2 separate regions of the Homo sapiens genome follow, and region 2 is linked to region 1. Evidence: promoter capture Hi-C in 16 types of primary human blood cells and fetal thymus (Javierre and others, 2016). All regions are on one chromosome and are shown on one strand. The core of a region is centred on a gene start or on the middle of the fragment in contact, and the rest is flanking DNA. Distances in the headings are between cores, read along the strand shown.

Region 1 (4,633 bases), core at 828-3,327:
CTAGTCAACTGGTATAACAGGATTTATAACAGCCTTAACGCAAATTGCATTATATGTGTGTGTGTATACCTATATATACACGTGTGTATATATATATTTGTCATATATATTCATTATAAGAATATATCATTCAAATTGGGGGACTTGTGGATCATTTCAACAACCATAAAGACACTTATTTTACAGATGCAAAAACTAAGAGAGGTGAAGTGACTTGTTCAAGGTTAAATATATATCTAGAGTTGGGTCTAGAACCTGAGCCTCTCCAGAGTTCCAATTCATTTCTCTTGTCTGAATTGAACAAGACTCTTCTTTCTTCACCCATCTCACCCCTACCAAAAATACTGAAAGAAATATCTTAATCTAAATCACTTGTGTTTTTAAATAGGGGGTTTTCCAAAAAAAAAAAAAAACCCACAAAATTGAATTTACTCAAGCTTTCAATTGCTGTATTACACCTTCCATGGATTTTTAGTTGTCAAATTATTTCTTATAGCAGGACAATAAGGTACTTTATTCTAAGGTACAAGTATACTAACAGTTTAATGTTTCATCCCCCACCTAAATGGCAGAGAGTGTTAATTCTAACAGGAGTCTTACATGTCTTACACTTTAGCAGTTTCAATCAAAAGATGAGCTATTTTACAATTTAAGGAAGAGGCCTTACACTGTTAAAATCTTGACCGATATGCTCAATGGCAGTACCATCATTGAATCTCCACCTGCTGCCTTACGTATCAAGAACATTTAAAAGTCTTTCTTGTTAGAGACAAAATAAAAGAAAAACTAAGGTGACAAGCGACTATGAGAAATAAGGCTTTAATCAGGTTAAATTTGCATTATGCAGCCTGCATGAATTTAGAGGTCCTAGAATCAAAACACTAGAAGGAACCTTTGATATGCTCTAGTTCAACAGACTGATTTTTGCAGAAGAGGAAACTGAAGCGCTGATGAGACCATTAACTGATAAAGCAAACCGCTTACTTTTTCAAAGGGATTCATTTCAATGCCATTTTACCCTTATTTTGCATCTCACTGTTGTTTCTCAGAGCGACGATTGACCTTTTTTTAGGTGAAAAGAGCGAATAGAGCGTATTAATTTCAAGAGGGTGAAAAATGCCTTTGAAGGAGGAGATGCTGGAGTGAAGAGGAGAAATGACGTCTTATTTAAAATATGTAACCCCTTGATGGGGTTAGACAATGAATCATATTCTCCTAGATTTTTCTATGTCTATAGACATCAGCCACAGTTCTTTCAGGCACTCAAACGAGAGGAAGAGGAAGTGAATAAAGCTCATACTAAATATATAGCACCCACTGAAGGCAGGGATGTAGACAGAAAGAACGGGGGTGGGGGAAGGAAGGAAAGCACGCTTCGCCAGGATCCAGCTGTTTTCTAACAAACCTAAGCCTACGGAAGCTAGGAAGATATCGGAAGCAAGGAAGATATCGGAAGCGACGGCATCCCTCAAATTCGAGAGGGCGGATGCCTCTAGGGCTAGAGAGGCTCCCTAGCCCTCAGTTACAGAGCGACTGGGAGGGGACAAAATGGAGTTGAGGTTTAGGGGCACCCTAAAGGTCGTTTGGAGGTCTAGCAAGCACTTCATGGTCTCCTCCGGAAAGGGCCGTGGCAAAGCCTAGTACCCCGATCAGGAAGATGACTTCTGGCCCTCGGGATGCGGTGAGCGGCAGGAAGAGGCAGGCTGGGGTTCCGAGGACCCCAGAGTCCATCACAGGAGCAGATACAGTGACCTCGGGAATCTTCCCGGCCCCAGCGGAGGCGAGCGGATAGATAGCCCTGGCTCAAGGAAAAAAGCGAGCCGACTCCAGGAGCTGGAATGCCCACCCAACCTCCTCCCGGCTCAGGTGAGGTACGCCAGTCCCCCTCTGGAAATGGGGCCCTGGTACCGACAGGGCAGGGGTGCCGGGGCCGCAACCTCCCCATCCAGGGATACTCACCGGAGGGGCGGCCCACCGCGTCTTCGCAGCCGGCCGGCGCCTGGCACTCGGAAAGCTCGCAAAAAGGAACCGCGTGCCCGCTAGCGCTGGGACGAGGAGGAGCGCGCGGCGGAGGCCAGAGAAAAAGCCGCAGCGGCGCGCGCGCACCCGGACAGCCGGCGGAGGCGGGACTCAGCGCGAGCCCGGAAAAGACGCGCCCGGAGGGGCGGGCGGAGCGGGGGCGCGCGGTGGTGTGGCAGAGCCAGCCGAATCGCTGGCTGCAGACGGCTCGGCCCACCCACGCGCCCGCCCCCGCTCGCCCGGGACGTCAGTCGAAAAGGCGGAGCCGAACGGGCTTCCCGGGGCGCGGGAGGGGCGCTGCGAGGAAGGCGAGGCGGCTAACGGCTCGCCTCAAGTTGTTGCTCCCGCTGGCGATCCGCTTCTGTCAGTCTCGCTGCTGGTGTCGTTGAGTGTGTTTCGGGATGTCCTTGCGCCTAACAGCAGTGAGGCGCAGAATTGGCCCACGCCCTCACCTGCGGCTTGCTTCGCAGGACTCCACCCCAGGATAAAAGTTCCCCTCGGGTCATCTTCCAGCTGCCCTCAAAAGACACTCATTTTTGGGTTTCACTGCTCCTCTTTAAGAGAGCTATCTTGAACACTTTGACTAAAAGCATCTTGCTCCTGTAAGCCTGAACTAATGCCTCTCATCCGTTTATCTTGCCTCTTACTGCGTTAAGATCCCCGCTCACTCCCACTGATGAAATATCACAAGGACGCAGGATTTTCACGTTGTCTTTCATTTCCACGATGGTATCATGGCAAAAAAACCCCCAACTGATAAGGAAAAGTCACCGCAGCTTTGTGACATCTTACTAGCCCTGATCATTGCTTATAAGCCGGTCATACGAATGCTGTTCCAACAGATGCAAGAAATTGCTATTAAAATTAAAATGCCAGCGAACTATCTGAGGGCTTCAAAAGGGACAGACCATAATTGCAAATGAGGCCTGATAAACTGCCAAGAATATATCACCCAAAAAAATAAATCTCAAGAATTCTTCCAGTTCCCTGATGCGTAATGGTGAACTAGCTTCCTGTTCCTGATGGTAATTGACATTTCACTTCACTTGCTGATTTCCATTTTCCCATAGAATTACCATTTGTGCTTGTGTGTGTGTATATATATATGTATATATAAAATGCCTTACCACCTGAGATTACAAGCTAGAGTAGTTCTTCAGTGTGCATCACAATTATCTGGGGTGCTTGTTGAAATGTAGGTACCTGGAGCTACAACCCCCAGGTATTTTGATTCTGATCTGGGTAGGGATAAGAAATTTGAATTTTTAATAAGCAGCCCAGGTGACACTAAAAGTGGTTAGCTGAGAGCACAGAGCTATAGTTTTTGTGTTACTACTCTAAAGCCATATTACCAATTCAATTTCCAAGAAACCCACCCACTTACATATAATATACCTATAAATATTGCTAAGACAGTCATGTAGCTTCCTTTTTCAAGATTGACCTACAAAGTTCAGTACTTCAAACAACGAGTTTAATTGTCATGTTTATTTTATGAAATCTTGTTTTAATACCAGAAATAAGCAATCATATGTCAGGTACGTAATTCACTGGGTAACTATGATGTACAGAGCACTATCACCTACAGTTGGGTTAACACAAATGAAATTGAAGAAATGAATATCGCTGTTCTCAATAAAGTTAGTGTCTAGTTGTGGAATTAAAATATAGATATAATACAAACCCAGTGTAGCACATAAATCAGTGTGCTGGATGAAGATGAAAAAGAACTTGTAATTAAAGAGTACTTTTGCCAGTTTCCTTTATTGTCGGTCTCTTAGCCCAGACATTTTCAATTAGGTAATTTCCTCTGAACAGAGTCTTCAGCTTACTGAAGTTCCTCCAGCTCTACAAGATATAAAGGAAAGAAATCACTATAGCCTGAAACTATCCGTTTTTTGGTATACAAATGTGTGTATGATATACATATAGATATGTTTATCAGACCAAGAAACTACTTGGATTTTCAAGATCTCTTATTACTTAAGCTATTCATTAGTGTGTACAGTTCTGGCTGTCTTCATCACCTACCACATCTCACCTTCTTCCACATTTAACTGCACCCAAGTTGAAGAGGAAAGAAGAACTATACCTCCAAAAAGGAAACCAAGTATAACCACGCTATTTCCAGCTTTCCTTTTTCGGAGTCAAAACAAACCTTGCTTAATTTCTTGTCATCAGAAACCTTCCAGAAATTACTGCCCAGGAGCAAAATATTTCCCAAGCAGCTGTCTGACATTTTAAAGAGAACATTTGCAACGTTGTTTATTAGTTAGGAAGATAGGGTATTATTATCCCTATTTCACAGATGAAGAAATAGATGCAGGTTAAGTGTCTTGTCCAGTCACACAACTAAGTAGTAACAGAGCCTGAATTTCCTACTACACTGCTTATGACTCCTAGACCAGGGTGCTTGCCGCTACATTAAGCTGCCTCTGTAATGAGTCCTACCCAGAACTACCAACCCAATTAGAAATGGAGTAGATAAACGTATGGAAATGGAAGAGTTAGGAAAATGTACAATGCAATTGACAGATTCAAAATGCAATGTAATAAGTACTAAAAGCATGAGAATTAGTCTGTTAGAAGCTAAACAGAATTTAAAGGACAGCTC
Region 2 (4,704 bases), core at 986-3,485, 550 kb after region 1:
TAAGGATACACAATTTGCTGGACTCCAGAGGCAAGGAGACACCAAAGAAAAGAGATAAATTAACTCACAAAGGGTTAAAGTAAGTGTGGGAGATACAAGATGGGAGCAAAATCAGAGACTGCTGGCAGTTAGGATGGCAGGGTTGAAAGAGCAAGGCTATGCTGTGATGAACTGTTTTCAGTTGGCAAGAAGGAAGTCCTTATATGCCTGATGTCCATATTTTCCAAGCCAAAAACTGGCATAACGTCTAACGAACATAAGTATACTTATGGACACAATGGGACAAAATGAAATCAGGGCTGTCCTGGAAATCCAGAATATATGGTTACTATCTGGAAATGGTCTGTTTTTAAAAGAACCCAACCCCAGCATGACTAAAGAACTGCATAGAGTTTCACAATACCCTTATACAGTCTCTAGTTATGACTCACCTGAATGATGAATGCTCAATGGGCACATGACCATTAAAAAATTAGAGCATGGGCCGGGCGTAATGGCTCACTCCTGTAATCCTAACACTTTGGGAGGCCCAGGCAGCCGGATCACTTGAGCCCATGAGTTTGAGACCACCCTGAGCAACATAGCAAAAACCCGTCTCTACAAAAAATTTACAAAAATTAGCCAGGCATGGTGTTGTGCGCCTGTAGTCCTAGGTACTTGGGAGGCTCAGGTGGGAGGATCACCTGAGCCTGGGAGGTTGAGGCTGCAGTGAGCTGTGATTGTGCCACTGCCCTCCAGCCTGGGTGGCAGAGTGAGACCCTGTCTCAAAAAAAAAAAAAAAAATTAGAGCATGTATGCAAAGTTACTTAACGTCATCTTCTCTGTCCTCCCATTCCACCAGCTCCTTCCGGTTTCATAAATTCATTGGCCATCTGGAGACCTTAGTTAAAAAAAATCATGAGGCTAATCCCTAGTATCCTACATTAGTTACTACTGAATTTTGATACCAGTTCAAGGGTCCTTTTGGGGTATCTGATTATCTTTGATAGCCAGGAGGCCCACAAGGTGCTTCAATACTAAATTACGTTCATAAGTTAATAGTTTCTTGAGCTCCAATAGACAACTAAGTAGAATTTTCAACCACTGGTTAAAAGAGATAATGGTCTTACTGCCAATGATTCTGTCAATTATGAGACCAGCTACTATCATGTGAGAGATAGGTGAGTTTAAACAGTTTGCCTTCTTGTGAAGGTAGTGGGTTTAAGAAAAAGAACTCCAGCTATCAGAATTCAAGAGTAGGGTGTCAAAAGAGGGGATGAAGGATAAACTATCTCTTACTATTGTGTTACCTTTCCATACAGAAACATTTTTCTCAAATAGAACCAAAATGCAGAGACACACTAACTGGTGTAGTCACCTAATGTGACTGAGACTGAGGAGGAGTCGTTGAATCAGATGATCTTTTTACTTCAGGGAAGTGCCTCCAGACCTAGTTGACAAAAACTGTCAAATTGTTTTGGTTTCTTCTCCAATCCTGGAAAACACAGACCACCTTGTTGTAGTTGTAGGGAGGACATCTATTAGACCTCAGAGTTACAGTAATGAGGATGTCTTGTTCCAATTTCTATCTGCAGCAGTTCACACTTCCTTATGTAACCAGGGGCTCCCTGGTTTCCTGAGTATCACCATTCTGGGGAAGAAATCAGTGTGTATACTGATGCTCAGAATACCCGACCTCAACAATTTCTTATACCTTAATCTTCCAAGTTACTAGTCTACATGACACTGTCTAGTACAGGGTAGAGTTGTGAATACCATACCCCTGAAAGACTTAGTCTGTTACCGGGAAGCAAGTCAAAACTAGGTATTCAAAGCATAGAGTGGCTGGAATAAAAGAGACTAAAAAGAAAGCTAAGAAGTTTCCTTGCCCCATTCTTTCGCAATAGAGAGAATGGTTTAGACAGTGTACAAGGCCATCCCACAAGGATAAACAAGATGAGAAGCCAAACTGCAGTTGATGGGGTCAACTTAGTACAAGAAACCATTATTAAGCACCTTCTCTACTATTTTTGCCATGCACTTGGGATAAGAAAGGAAAAAGACCATCCTCACTCTTCAGGAGCTTATACTCTAATAAGTGAAGGAGAGAAATACATGAATAGAATTTAATATACAGCAGTAAATGATAAGAAAATAGCTATGAATGAGGAATTATGGGACACAAAGGAGAGACACTTAGCCAGTTTGGTAGTTCAGGGAAGCAAGAAAGAGGACCATGACTGCAGAAAGGACTTTAGCTCAGTATCTGTGACTTGGAGCCATCAGATAGCATAAATCAAAAAGAGTAAAGGAAGAAGGCAGGCTAGAAATCTCACAAAGAGCTGAAGTAGCACCATGGCTTTTGGCATTTTTTAGGTGGCAAAAACTTTGAAGAGTGGAGAGTTCTCCCTCAGCACGATGCCCATTCACCTACCCACCCTCATATATCTTTACAGAAGATTTGATTTGGTAGAGAAACAGGGAAGCAAAGCAGGTATGTAAAACATCCAGAAGGATGCACACCACATAATAGGTTCTCAGCAATTTCTCTTGATTTCTCCTCACAAGCTCTACCAGAATTTCAAGAGTCAGATTGTGCGCTCTCAGAAACTGACAGAATACTGGAGATCTTCAAAGTATAACTGCAAGCAAAATCATAGACATTACTGCAGGGCTTCATCAATGTATGGCTGACAGAGCTCTCCAAATTCATTAGAAATGGTACAGCCCTTCTTTTTGGATAAACAATGCTAGCCTAACATGAGCCTCTAGATCACCACCCACATTATTCAGTTAAATGCCAAACTATACCATTTCTTTCCTGTACTATTGTTTGTACTTATTCTTTCCTCACAAATCTAATCTCACAGCTAATTCTTATGTAGACTAGAGTCCACCCTGGACTAAACTATTCTGATATTTTCTTCAATAATGACTCTGATTTAAATGTGTCTAATCCCTCACTTATTCAACCATATAACTTCTACAGCATTCCCACATAGGTTAGAAAATCAAGTCAAAATGAATAAACAGATGCTTTAATTTTAAGCCACTCCACTCTTCTCTCTCTTGATTCAAGAATTCTCAAATATACTTATTTCCCAACAGCTCTCTAAACAAAACTACTTACTCAGCTCTGTTTATGATCCTCACTGACTAGAATGTCTAGTCCTCTCCCCCTAAATAAAATTCTAAATCCATATTTGAAACATAATTCAAAACTGTCCATGAATCCTTCCCTCAACAAATAAGTCCATTAACTTCAAAATTATTAATATGTCTCCCTCATTCCCATGTATTATCATAAATACCCAACTCCCCATTATCCACATGTGGCAATTTCTACCTCTTTTAGTCACCCACTTCTGACCACTTAAGGCACTGGAGCAAGGTACAGAAGGCACATAAAGCCAGTTCACAGAATGAGGGAAAAAGTCAAGAAAAGGAGGCAAGGATATTACTATTTTACACTATTTACATTAGGATCCCCCACAGAAGCAGAGATAATGAGAGATGATTATACTCATAGACACACACAAAATTTAATTACATCAATGTATATTAAAATTTGAAACATACTAGTCATAGAAATAGCCACCTGCTTAGTTAGCTAGAAAAGATAGTTTACTTACATTATGTCCCAGTGGAAGAACAAGTTGGTAAATTATTCTATTTATACTGGAAGTTTACAGGCCAACGTTGATATGAAACATATATGTACATAAACACACATACCTACAAGGCAAATGTGCCCAGCCTATTTATCTCTGTAAGAAATCCTGCCAAACCAAAAATGCACTATTTTATTCGTTAAATTCCTATTAGTCCACAGTATACTGTCAAATACACAGATGGCACTCAAATGGTAGTTGACAGTGCTCTTCAATACAAATCTATCAAGCCAAATTCAGGAAGAAATTAATCTTTAATCATGAAAACGCTCAAGAAAACATCCTGCATGTTACAGCATTCTTATAATTGTACTGGAAGATATACTGTAATTTACTTAGTATAGCCAAGAATTTATAGAACCATGATTCAGAGTTGCACACAATCTGATTTTAGCACTGAAGCTGAAAAATAAAACATACTGGAATCAACCCAACTTGCTCTATTTCCTGGAATACAGGTAGAAACCCATTATAGTTAACATCAGGAAAACAGGAACTTCTATATTACAATGTAATATCCTATAGTGAACTCACAGTACTTTGTTGATTTGGTTACAAAAAATTATTTACAGCAAATAATCAAGGAAAACAAATATTTACTCCAATGCTTTCCCAGTAACAGTCATCCCCTATAATGAAAAAATATTTATGTGTTGCTAGCAAAGCAATTCTCACTTGATGATCCACTGTGAACATTAGATCTAAAGAGCATTTCTCACCCTTGCCTCCCCCGTTTTATTCAGCCCAACTTCCCCAATGCTTACCTCCTTAAATAGTATATACAAGCAAACATAACCACCCGATATTGATCTCAAGCTACTTTTGCAACTACTATTATCTATTTTAACTTGTCACTTGTATAAGATTTATGTGCTGATTAGGCTGTATGATTACTCTGCTAATTTTAGTTACATTGCTAGTATAACGTCTATGTAATAGAAAACACATTTTTTTTAAAAAGTACATTTCCATTCTTGTGTGTTTGTAGCAGTCCTGATATGTACCACATATGAGTCCAATGATGTAAGTTTTAATGAAATATTTAATATTATTA

Evidence for each region. The method cuts DNA at HindIII sites, captures the fragments that hold promoters and counts their contacts. A CHiCAGO score of 5 or more calls a contact.
Region 2: a contact is called between a fragment that was not itself captured here and the fragment with the promoter of ACSL4 in region 1, in 1 of 17 cell types (activated CD4 T cells). The highest score is 5.2, in activated CD4 T cells.

What each region holds. Positions count from the first base shown.
Region 1 is chrX:109,731,180-109,735,812 of GRCh38, forward strand. It overlaps ACSL4 (acyl-CoA synthetase long chain family member 4), which reads right to left and starts at 2,078. Exons shown (of 16, transcript NM_001318510.2): 1 at 1,960-2,078. It overlaps LOC105373311 (a long non-coding RNA gene), which reads left to right and starts at 1,332. Exons shown (of 1, transcript NR_158569.1): 1 at 1,332-3,779. RefSeq lists enhancers at 1,441-1,490, 1,551-1,690 and silencers at 1,813-1,933, 2,031-2,340. The HindIII fragment of the contact is 5,191 bases long and covers 436-4,633 here.
Region 2 is chrX:110,285,906-110,290,609 of GRCh38, forward strand. The region is part of intron 1 of AMMECR1 (AMMECR nuclear protein 1); the gene reads right to left. Among named protein-coding and RNA genes, the nearest start is that of AMMECR1, 30 kb to the right of the region's middle. The HindIII fragment of the contact is 6,097 bases long and covers 1-4,704 here.